2 separate regions of the Homo sapiens genome follow, and region 2 is linked to region 1. Evidence: promoter capture Hi-C in 16 types of primary human blood cells and fetal thymus (Javierre and others, 2016). All regions are on one chromosome and are shown on one strand. The core of a region is centred on a gene start or on the middle of the fragment in contact, and the rest is flanking DNA. Distances in the headings are between cores, read along the strand shown. Region 1 holds the start of C11orf24 (chromosome 11 open reading frame 24). Region 2 overlaps PPP6R3 (protein phosphatase 6 regulatory subunit 3).

What was found. Contacts are between HindIII fragments. The CHiCAGO score rates a contact against its expected background, and 5 or more counts as called.
Region 2: a fragment that was not itself captured here is called in contact with the fragment with the promoter of C11orf24 in region 1 in 1 of 17 cell types (endothelial precursors); the score reaches 5.5 in endothelial precursors.

The regions. Positions count from the first base shown.
Region 1 is chr11:68,269,686-68,275,201 of GRCh38, forward strand. C11orf24 (chromosome 11 open reading frame 24) reads right to left here and starts at 2,288. Exons shown (of 4, transcript NM_022338.4): 1 at 2,172-2,288. It overlaps LOC105369363 (a long non-coding RNA gene), which reads left to right and starts at 2,417. Exons shown (of 3, transcript XR_950248.3): 1 at 2,417-2,491. RefSeq lists silencers at 2,086-2,485, 4,365-4,424 and an enhancer at 2,397-3,251. The HindIII fragment of the contact is 7,211 bases long and covers 978-5,516 here.
Region 2 is chr11:68,542,088-68,547,603 of GRCh38, forward strand. It overlaps PPP6R3 (protein phosphatase 6 regulatory subunit 3), which reads left to right. Exons shown (of 24, transcript NM_001164161.2): 4 at 2,751-2,937. Among named protein-coding and RNA genes, the nearest start is that of PPP6R3, 84 kb to the left of the region's middle. RefSeq lists enhancers at 1,163-1,663, 1,664-2,164. The HindIII fragment of the contact is 781 bases long and covers 2,542-3,322 here.

The DNA.
Region 1 (5,516 bases), core at 1,038-3,537:
ACACGGAGCAGGTCCACAAGGCTATATCAGGACACTCCACGGGTTTCTCAGGAAACTTCTGCTGGATACCATCACCACTTACTCCCTCCCAGCCGGTGGGGCTGGTGGTCACTCCCACAGAAACAGGAATTGGCCACTGTGTAGTCGAGAACAGGCCTTCATTGTCCTATGACTTCATCCCTCTGCTATGGTCCTGCCTCCACTTTCCAACAGAATATTCTAAATGTCAAGATCCCATGCGGGAACCTGTGGTCATCTATGTAAGTTGACTCATGATGGACAAACCATTAACAACATTTAAAATAACAGTTTCCCCTGCAAAGGCTTCAAGCCAAAATTAGGATGTGGGTCTCGGGACCCCACCAGTTATTCTCATTATTATGTGGTACAGGGAGACTGGGTAGATCAGGGTCTCAGACCATAATAGATGGGAAAAAAGAGACCCCAGGGGCAGGAGGGGAATGAGCGAGAGAGAATTAAGTTTGTATTAAGTTGGAGACCAGGGCAGATGGAAAGACGGAAGGTTAGGCTGGCACTGGGAGCTCCCTTCTTCAGGGGTCAGCTCCCCATAGGATCTGCAAGGAAGGTGCAACAGGATACTCCCTTGAGCCATGTGACACTCCATGACAAAGGCACCCCCAACTATGCCCCTGGGTGTCAACCTCCCTATCCTTTTCTGGTTCATGACCTCGAGATGCCTCCCAAGGCATCTTGTCTGAATTCTTGTGTTCCGAACCTTGGCTTGTTATATGTGGCGCACTTTATGCAAGTTACACAAAACTGGACTCCAGGCGTGGTGCTGCATGCCTGTAATCCCAGACACTCAGGAGGCTGAGGTGGGAGGATTACAAGCCCAGAAGTTTGAGTTCAGCCTGGGCAACATAGTGAGACCCCATCTCTTAAAAAAAAAAAAAAAGGGAAAGAAATAACTTAATTCTTTTTTTCTGGCATAGAGAGGTTCCAAAGACCAATCCTGAAGCTTGGTAAAGGACTACAGCTGTTACCCCCACATTCTATCAGGCTATTAAGACTCACTCAGCCGCAACATGGCCAGGCCCCCACACCAAGTTAGGCAAGCTACAGATACCAAGGAGTAGGAACTGCAAACACAAATACAGGGCAAACTGCAGGTACCTAATCCTGACACGTCACCTGGCTGAACTTTGGTAGCAGAAGCCCAAGGAACACAGACTTATGGCTTTGTGTATATAGACATTGTCCTGTAGTCCAAAGGATGTGACTCTGTGGCAGACGGGAACCTAGAACATTGGACATTTATTATATTACATTAACTACCTTGCTTGCTTCCAGGTTTCTGGAAGTTTTGGTAACACAGCTAAATACTAGGGCCTAGTTTTTGCTAAGAACGTGGGTAGCTCTGACATTCCTTTGTCCATTAGGCAGATCCACTGTATAAATGGAAACATCTGTATTTTAAAGATTTTCCTAGCTGATTTTATCGAAATGTTAGAGATTTTCCTGGGGCGAGGGATAGCTGCAAGTTATTACAGTCAGATTTCTAAGCACGATGATTATTTCTGGTGGCAAACCATGCGTGTGGAGGCCGATTCCTCCTATCAGCCTAACGATTAAGTCAACATGCTAAGCAGCCACACGGGGGCTACTAAGTGACTCGCACGGGGGAAGCAGGCAGGGAGACAGATGGGCAGGGGAGGGAATCTGGGGCAATGCACAACCTCCACCCAGGTAGAGAGAGGGTCTGGGGGATAGGTCTGTGTCACTCAAGTAAGAGCGACACTTCTTGGGGTCCAGTCCCGTCCTGGGCTTGCCCGGGAAAGACCCCAGGACAAATTCGGCCCCCTTCCAGAGTGTCCCCATTCTGCTCCCACAATGGGACAAGCCGGCCTCTTCTCCAGTCTGGGCCCCCTTCGGCCCTCCTCCCTCCTCCTGTCTCTTGGGCCCCCAGCCATGCTCGGCCCCCAGTTGACTTCTTCAGTACCTGCATTGCTCAGCGTCTTGCACTCTGTGCGTGCCCCATCCGCCGCTCCTCCTGTCCCGTTCCTCCTGCCTCTCTCAGCCCCACTCACTCTCCCACTGCCCCTCGTGCCCCCATCCAACCCTCCTCCTGCCCCCCAACCTCTGTCTCTCAGTCCCAAGCCAGTCAGGGAGCCCTGACAGCAGCTACCCGGACGGCAGTGCGAGCCCCTTACCCGGGCGCAGCAGGCCCCCGGCGGCCTGGTGGCCCTCGGACAGTAGGAAGGAGCCTGAGGCCCGGCGCGGGGACGTGGCCGGCAGCGCAACCCAGGCAGCTCCGGGCAGCGCGCCCTGCCCGGGCCCCGCCCAAACGCCGGAAATGACGTCACGGAGGGCGGGGCGGGCCTGCTGGCCGGGGCGAAGAGCGGCTGCGGCGGGGCCTGTGGCGAACGGAGGCGAGCCGGAAGTGGGGGGGTTGTCTGCTCTCAGGCCCCGCCTCCCCGGGGCCGGCTCGGGCCACTTCTTGCGCGCTGCCAGAAGGAGCTATTTTGAGCAGGTCTGTGGCGGAAGTGGGTGTTCCCGGGTCTCTGCTGCCCAGCTGTGCCCGCTGCCGTCTTGGGGTCCCGGGGTGCGCGGGTTGGGCTGGGTGAGCTCAGAGGCACCTTGTCGGCAGCCGAGCCTGAAGAGGCGACCTCGAAACGCCTCGTGAGACCTTTCGCGGGCACACGCCCTTCGCGTTCCTCCGCTTCCTCCCACGTTTCTTCAGCCCCTGGCGGGGCGCTGGGGTGCCCGGTAGTTAAGGGTGGGGTGGCAGCGAGCGTTTCTGTGCACCCGCAGCGTGCCACGCCCGTGCTAAGCACTTTGCCTATAGAGCCAGTGGCTTAATTCTGCAATAGCACAGTGAAGAACTTCGCCTCATTTTACAGACGTGGAAACAGGCTCATCAAGTGCTCTGTAATTGTAAAACCTGGGATAACAAAGGAGCAAAACGCAATTTAGAGGCAAGTGTGTGGGACTTGACTTTGGTTAGAAATAGGCTTTGCAGGCCAGGCGCGGTGGCTCTTGCCTGTAATCCTAGCACTTTGGGAGGCCGAGACGGGCGGATTATCTGAGCTCAGGAGTTCGAGACCAGCCTGGGCAACATGGTGAAACCCTGTGTCTACTAAAATACAAAAAATTAGCCGGGCGTGGTGGCGTGCGCCTGTAGTCCCAGCTACTCGGGAGGCTGAGGCAGGAGAATTGCTTGAACCTGGGAGGTGGAGGTTGAAGTGAGCAGAGATCGTGCCACTGCACTCCAGCCTGGGCGACAGAGCGAGACTCTGTCTCCAAAAAAAAAAAAGAAAGAAAGAAATAGGCTTTGCAAGTTAGTAGTTCTGTGACTGAATCCCAGTCTGTATAAGACCCTCAGGCATCCCCCGGTCCAAACCAAAACCTGTCTGCGAAGGATGATTTCACAGGAGCAAACCAAGACTTTATTTCCAGTTTTATAACCTGCCTTGGGGTCTTCGGCTAGGAAGCTAAGAGACACAGAAAGCTGAGATTGGGCAAAGACAGGATCTACCATCCACTCCGAGCTCTGGGAGCACCTGAAATGCGATTTGATGTCACCACCACCATCCCCAGTTCAACCACAGTTCATGTGTGGAATTTAACCTGCAAAGTTGGGTTTGCTGAGACCCAACGCCGGTTGGATCATGTGAAGATCAGATCCTTTCACTATGTATTTGCTTTAATTTTTCCAACTAGTTCGGATCTAACATGAAGTACAGTATTGAGGCTCACTCCAGAAGTGAAAATATACAATCGGCAGGCAGATTTTAGTTCTTTGCCTGCCCTTTTCAAAAATCAATGACTGGGCTGGGCGCGGTGGCTCACGCCTGTAATCCCAACATTTTGGGAGGCCAAGGCGGGCGGATCACCTGAGGTCAGGAGTTTGAGACCAGCCTGACCGATATGGTGAAACCCGTCTCTACTAAAAATATAAAAATTAGCCAGGCGTGGTGGCGTGTGCCTGTATTCCCAGCTACTCGGGAGTCTGAGACAGGAAAATTGCTTGAACTTGGGAGGGGGAGGCTTCAGTGAGCCGAGATCTCACCACTGCACTCCAGCCTGGGCGACAGAGCGAGACTCCTTCTAAAAAAAAAAAAAAAAAAAAAAAAAAAAATCAATGACTGTGACTCTGTTTTCATTTCCTCTTTGGCAACATAGGGACAATTTTTACTGCTGGGGCTGAAATTACAAACATAAGACACAGCCTCTCCTCTAGAGCAGCTGGGCAGCTAGACCTCCATCTGCTTGCTTTTTTTTTTTTTTTTTAGACACGGAGTCTTGCTCTGTCGCCCAGGCTGGAGTGCAGTGGCGCCATCTCGGCTCACTGTAAGCCCCGCCTCACGGGTTCACGCCGTTCTTCTGCCTCAGCCTCCCGAGTAGCTGGGACTACAGGCGCCCGCCACCACGCCCAGCTAATTTTTTGTATTTTTAGTAGAGACGGGGTTTCACCATGTTAGCCAGGATGGTCTTGATCTCCTGACCTAGTGATCCGCCCGCCTTGGACTCCCAAAGTGTTGGGATTACAGGCGTGAGCCACCGCGCCCAGCCCATCTGCTTTCTTAAATTTCTATTGGAACAGAGTCATGCCTCTTCATTAGGTATTATCTGATGATAAAAGGGCACAGTCGACTAGTTGTAGAGACTATATGGCTCACAAGTCCTAAAATATTTACTCTCTGGCCCTTTACAGAATCTATTTGCTGATCTCCAGTCTAGAGTGTTACTGATGGGTTTCTGACACAGAAATATCTGGCTGAGATGGTCCAACATACCGGGAAACTCATTCTCTCCTATGAGAAAGTCATATTCTCTGATAGCATCTTTGGTCACCTGAAACCTAGTGTCCATTGAAGGCACAGCTCTGGGAACTGCAAAACTGTTCTGTGGAGTGTTATGGAGAGTAAAGCCAGGCAGACCAGCTGCTTCTGAGGGCTGTGGATAAAATAGAGAATGATACACTTACATCCTCTACCTTTTGTTTCCAGGCACAGATCATTTCAGGTGCCTTCTGTGCAGAAATAGCTGAATAAACTTGGAGCTTGGTCTCTTTGTTGTTGAATTTACAATGTTATTTGAATGTAAGACCTTGTAGATATGACATTTGAAAGTTAGGGCTCTGGAATGGCACTGCCTGGCTTCAGATCCTTCATTTTTTTGCTAAATGACAACAAACAAGAGGCTTAGGCTCTGTGCCTCCGTTTCATCATAGTCAATTCTGGTATTTGCAGTAGTTATGTTGAATAAAGTCACCCAGTACACGGACTTAGCAAATACTGCTCCTTGGAAACCACAGCTCCTAGGGAAGATACAGGGTTAGGTTCCTGTGAACCTCTGATCACAACATTTTTATCAACAGATCAATATACATAACTTTGTTTTTGTGTGTGTGTTTCTATTAAAGATGCTTTATTTAGGCCAGACACAGTGGCTCATGCCTATAATCCCAGCACTTCGGGAGGCCGAGGCAGATGGATCACCTGAGGTCAGGAGTTCAAGACCAGCCTGGCCAACATGGTGGAACCCTATCTCCA
Region 2 (5,516 bases), core at 1,682-4,181, 270 kb after region 1:
CAGAGGAAACACAGCCAGTGTGAGGGAGCAGGCCGCCGAGTGATGCATTGTGCTGGAGTGGGCGGGGGTGGGGGCATGTGGTCCAGAGCATACATGCAGGAGATGACCTCAGGAGCAAGGGCCACTCCCCTGGAGCGAGGAGGAAGTGCCCAGCTGTAGGTGGGGATGTGATAGGGCTGGGTTCCCTTCTGATTGCCTTCTCTGTGTTCTCAGGCAAAGGAAGCGAGGTCAGAGCCTATGGAGGAGGAGGGGTCTTGCCGAGGGTGGAGTGGAGGCATCTTTGGGTGCTTGAGAAGCTGCTGTTTTTTTTTTTTTTTTTTTTTTAAGACAGAGTCTTGCTCTGTCATCCAGGCTGGAGTGCAGTGGCGCAGTCACAGCTGGCTGCAACCTCTGCCTCCCAGGTTCAAGTGATTCCTGTGCCTCAGCCTCCTGAATAGCTGAGACTACAGGTGTGTGCCACCACACCTGGCTAATTTTTGTGTTTTTAGTAGAGATGGGGTTTTGCCACATTGGCCAGGCTGGTCATGAACTCCTGACCTCTGGTGATCCATCCATCTTGGCCTCCCAAAGTGCTGGGACTATTGGTGTGCGCCACCGCGCTCGGCCTTGAGAAGCTTCTTGAATGTTAAGGAGGGAGGGAAGGAGAGTAGCCCCAGCCTGTCTGGAACCAGAACTCTGAGCTTTTTGTGTAATGGCTAACATTATGCATGCTTCTTGAGTTAGGTCATACCACCCAGTCACCTAGAAAAAGTGAACAAATTTTAAAGTTGCTCATCTGGACTTTCTCTGTCAGAGTTTGGAGAAAACACTCATGCATTTGATTCACAGCCAGGAGTCCGCTTGCCTTTTACTGATCTTCTGTTTGTCAGCAGTTTCCACATTAAGACAGTTGAGTGAGTGCATCTCCCCAACCCACTCTAGCAGCATTCTGCCATTTTATAGTGAAAATAAAGAGGAATGAAAACAGCTGTCATTTATTAAACACTTATTTACTTTATGCCAGGCCCTCTTCCCAGCCTTTTTTACTCCCCTCCTCCATAAGATAAGGACTATTGTCTTAATCTTACTAACTTGGAAACTGAGGCCCAGAGAGGTTAAGTAACTTGTCCAAGGTTATACAGCATGTAAGTGGTAGAGGCCGGTTTTGAACTTAGCTAGTGTGACTCTAGTAGCTGCACCTGTAACCGCTGCATCAGCCCACTCCTGGGATAATGGGTACTTTACAGGGGTTTATATTCTGGCATCTTGAAGCCCATGCTACGTAAATTGAGGGAGGAGACTTTACTTCCCAAAGACCCATACATCTGCCAGGTCTGTTTTTTTTTTTTTCCTTTTCTGTTTTCTTTATACAAAGACTCATTTTGGGACCTTCTCATACTCTTCTGTCTTTAGGCCTCACACCAGAGCCTGTCAAGTGCCGTGGCTTTCTGGTTCGTCACCAGTGGTCTTTTTGTGCCAGGGTCTTGCTGCAGGCAGCACTTGCTTGCCTTGGATGCCCCAGGTGTGTCGTATACGTGTCCCTCCTGCCCCAGTCTTCCCTGGTTTCTTTTGTCATGCAGCCACGTTTGGCTATTTTGCCATCTCTCTGTCTTGCTCAGCTTTTGAGCTTGCCACTCCTGATGACTTGTTGGGGCGCTGGGTCCTGGCTGTCCAGCAGGGAGGAGTGTAAGAGCAGAGTAATTCTGGGTCAGCTAGAGTATCGTCTGGATAGGCTCAACGTCTCTGTTGTTGCTAGTGAAAACAGACACGAGATTGTCATAGTAGGAGTAAGTGGAGGAAATGGACCTGCTGCCTGTTTGCAGAGGGTCAGTGGTCTGGTTGTCAGAGGCAAGCATTTCTAAAGCCATGGGGTCTGTAGAAGAGCCTGTGTGGGTCCATATAGAGCAGGTGTCATGTTCTTAGCCGTGGGCCTTCTACAGGAGAGACAGCATGGTGAAGACTCATGGTGGGCTGACTTTGTGTCTGTGCTGATATCCAGATACTGGAAGGCTGATGTGGAGAGCACTAGTTTTGTTTTGTTTTGGTTTTGACACAAGGTCTCACTCTTGCCCAGGCTGGAGTGCAACAGTCATAGCTCTTTGTAGCCTCAAACTTGTGGGCTCAAGTGATCCTCTAATCTCAGCCTCCTAAATAGCTAGGACAACATTTTTTTTGTATACTGCTTCCTGCCTTGGTAGCCCAGGCTGATGTCCTGTTCCCCCCTTCATTATAGTAGGATGCTTACTCTCTTAAGATGTAATATAGACTTAGTACCATTTACAACCCATCTAAAGATAAAGGCTGGTCCAGGTCCCTACAGAGTGCCTTAAGTCATTACAAGGTGCTGCATGCAGTGCAGTTTCCTGGAAACCAGTGTCCTCCACAGTTGTCCGCAAGCTTTGCTGCTTCCCATGCCAGAGGAGGCTGTAGCCTGATGGCTCGTACGTCCAGCCGCTTTCCTCGCTGATCGTGGAGAAGGCCCGGGCCCTGCAGCATGACCTCTCTGGGCTTCTGAGTACTAGGTGCGCTCTAGTTTCTTCAGGGAAAATGTATTCTTGTTAAAGCTTGGTTTAAAAACAATTTTTTAGATAGTAGAAAATTTATTTTAGTCTGGAGGTAGGTTGAACAGAATGGATTGAAATGATTTCCTGATTTCCAGTAAACGATTTTATTTTTTTCACAAAATCTTGGGAAGCCTTTCTGATTTGTGTTTATCTTTATGTAATTAAACTGTTAATAAAGATGATGATGTAAATATCCTGTTCTTCTAGGTATCCAAATATATCTTGTGAGTTGCTCACTTCTGATGTCTCCCAGATGAATGATAGACTGGGAGAAGATGAATCCTTGCTAATGAAATTATATAGCTTCCTCCTAAACGATTCCCCTTTGAATCCACTACTTGCCAGTTTCTTCAGCAAGGTGCTAAGTATTCTTATCAGCAGAAAACCAGAACAGGTAAATATGATTTTCCAAAAGGTAAGTATTAGGGCTGATCATCCCCTTGAGGTGATCCCCCAGTACTTGTTGCTTTAAGAGTTCTAACTTTGCCTTAAGTTCAGGTTGTATAAGAGAATGTATTTTAAACCTTAAACATTCTAAGCACTCACATACTATTTGTATGTTAATGAATATTTCTAATATGGCATAATCTCAAATTTCACTTAATTTGTTAGCATACTTTAGTTTCCTCTTTTGAGAAGTGGGTAGAAGATGAGAATATTGGGTACCCATTTGTGAAGACAGGGCTTAACTAAGATGGCAAGTATAATAACTAAGCAGTTGAATATGTCACCAAACAATTGCTTTGTTTTGTTTTTCCCCCATTGATGATCAGAGATGAAGCTTAAACCAAAAACCTTTCCCACAAATGTAATTGGTGATTGGTTTGTACTAATGGTGATTCTGTTTTGATTCTACTCAAAACTTCTCCAGTGTCAGGCTTGAGACATCTGAGTGTATAGACTGCTGTGTACATTTGCAGCTGTGCTGTTCCTATCCAGTGTGGTTTGACAGAAACTTCACTTGGTTCTCTAAGTGTGGTCCCTGAACCAGCAGCCCCTCAGTATTACCTGAGAATTTGTTAGAAATGTAAGTTCTTGAGTCCTATTCCAGACCTGCTGAATCAGAAACTCTGAGAGATGGGCCCAGCAGTCTGGGTTTTAGCAAGCCTTCCAGCTAACTCTGATGCATGCTAACATTTGAGAACCACCGCTTTAGTGGATATTGTTGTGAAAAAGGATCTGCTTATCTGGAGATTTTAGTCATTTTATGGAAATAGGCACTCAGGGAACAACTAGAGCCTCAGATATTCAAGTATAAACTATAGCAGATTTGCCAGAATTGCAAGTATAGGTGTGATGATACGGGGCAAAAGTGGTCAAACCAGTTGGTCCTGCCATCCTTCATGATAGAAAATGGCTCTGGGTGACCCATTGTTGCTATCAGCACTTGTGGAAGGACTGGAGCTATTTTGGGCCCAGTGTGTCCTGTCCTATGCCAAGGCAAAGTGGATACATGCTTTATTTTAGAAAGAGATATTTCTTTCTTTCACTTAATGGAGTAGGATAAGCTTTCTAAGTTGATTGGAAATGAGATTCTTTTCACTTTGGTAATAATCCCCAAATCATGATTAATGTAGATTGTCTCTTTTTTTCTGCCTTCTAGTTAGAAATACAAGAACTGCTGGCTGTTTTAGGAGAGTGGAAGCCATCCTATCACCCTGATATTACCAGGCAGTTCTCAGGGATGGTTGTTGTAGCCATTATCCAGACATTATGCTTCATTGTGCTTTTTCTCCTCACTTCTGTGCTGTTGGAATCCAAGTTGGCGAGCCCCGATTTTCAGTGTACACATAAAGAGAGAGAATACACTTAAAACCTTGCCAGTTATGTTCTGAGACAAGAGCCCTTCGGCCTTTTGCTTGTTACACTTCCCTGTCAGGACTGTATGAATGATAGCAAGAGGATTCAGTGGCTGTGAGTTAAGATCAAACTTGGCATTTCTTTATCCTTTGCCAATTAGGAGTGTAAATAAAGGTTTTCTGTTATGTGATAGTATTAGTAGGGGTGTATGCAACTGTAAGGACAAAAATTGAGACTCAACTGGCTTAACCAATAAAGGCATTTGTTAGCTCATGGAACAGGAAGTCGGATGGTGGGGCATCTTCAGTGCTGCATGAGTCAGCACCCCAGCGGGGTCATCTGTGCCACAGGTCCCTGTTGACAGTGCTGTACTGTCCACCACACTAGCTGGGATTTATTCCTTTGGGCTCCAGGTTTGGTGTTTCTGGCACTGAATTACGGAATACTTGGGACACATGTGACTTTTTTCGTCCTTTCTCCTCTACTGTCCTTTTAAAAACTTGTGGGATCCAATTGTGAGTGAATTATTTATGTGTCATATCATTTCTTGAAGTTTTATATCATAATGCTTGACCTCATTGTCTAGAGAAGCAATGTGTGTTGGTTAATCCTGTATTTATACCTAATTGTATGAAGCAGTTTTAGTTGTCATTTCTGGCTATTAGACTTCATGTGGCATAATGGAAAGATTGTGGCTTTTGTGGCATACATATCCAATTTTAAATCCCAGGCAGCCACCTTTTAGCTCTGGAAGATAGTTTCTGAGCCTTGGTTTCCTCATCTCTAATGGGGTGTGGCGGTGGGGGTGAGTTATCCAACCCCCCACGCCCCAGAGCTTTTGAGAAATTTCAGTGAGATCCTGTTATATAGCAGCTGCGACACTCCCCCTGGGACTCGCAGAGGGTTTGGGAATAGATGACACGTGCGCATGGACAGAGGCAGAGGCAACAAGGCTGTATGGGACACAGGGATGCATGGGACAGAGTCATCTCCCTGGTCTCCCAGAGCAGAAGAGACCAGCAGCAGGGGCCTGATTTCCGTGGCCATTCTCACGTTCCTTCAGGGTAGCTCTCTGCCTCTCCACCAGCTGCCCTTCTTGTGCTAAGCTATTGGAGTAAATTGGTGAAGTCAAAATCAAAGGCGATGTTTGTGTAGCCAGGTGAGTTAGTTATT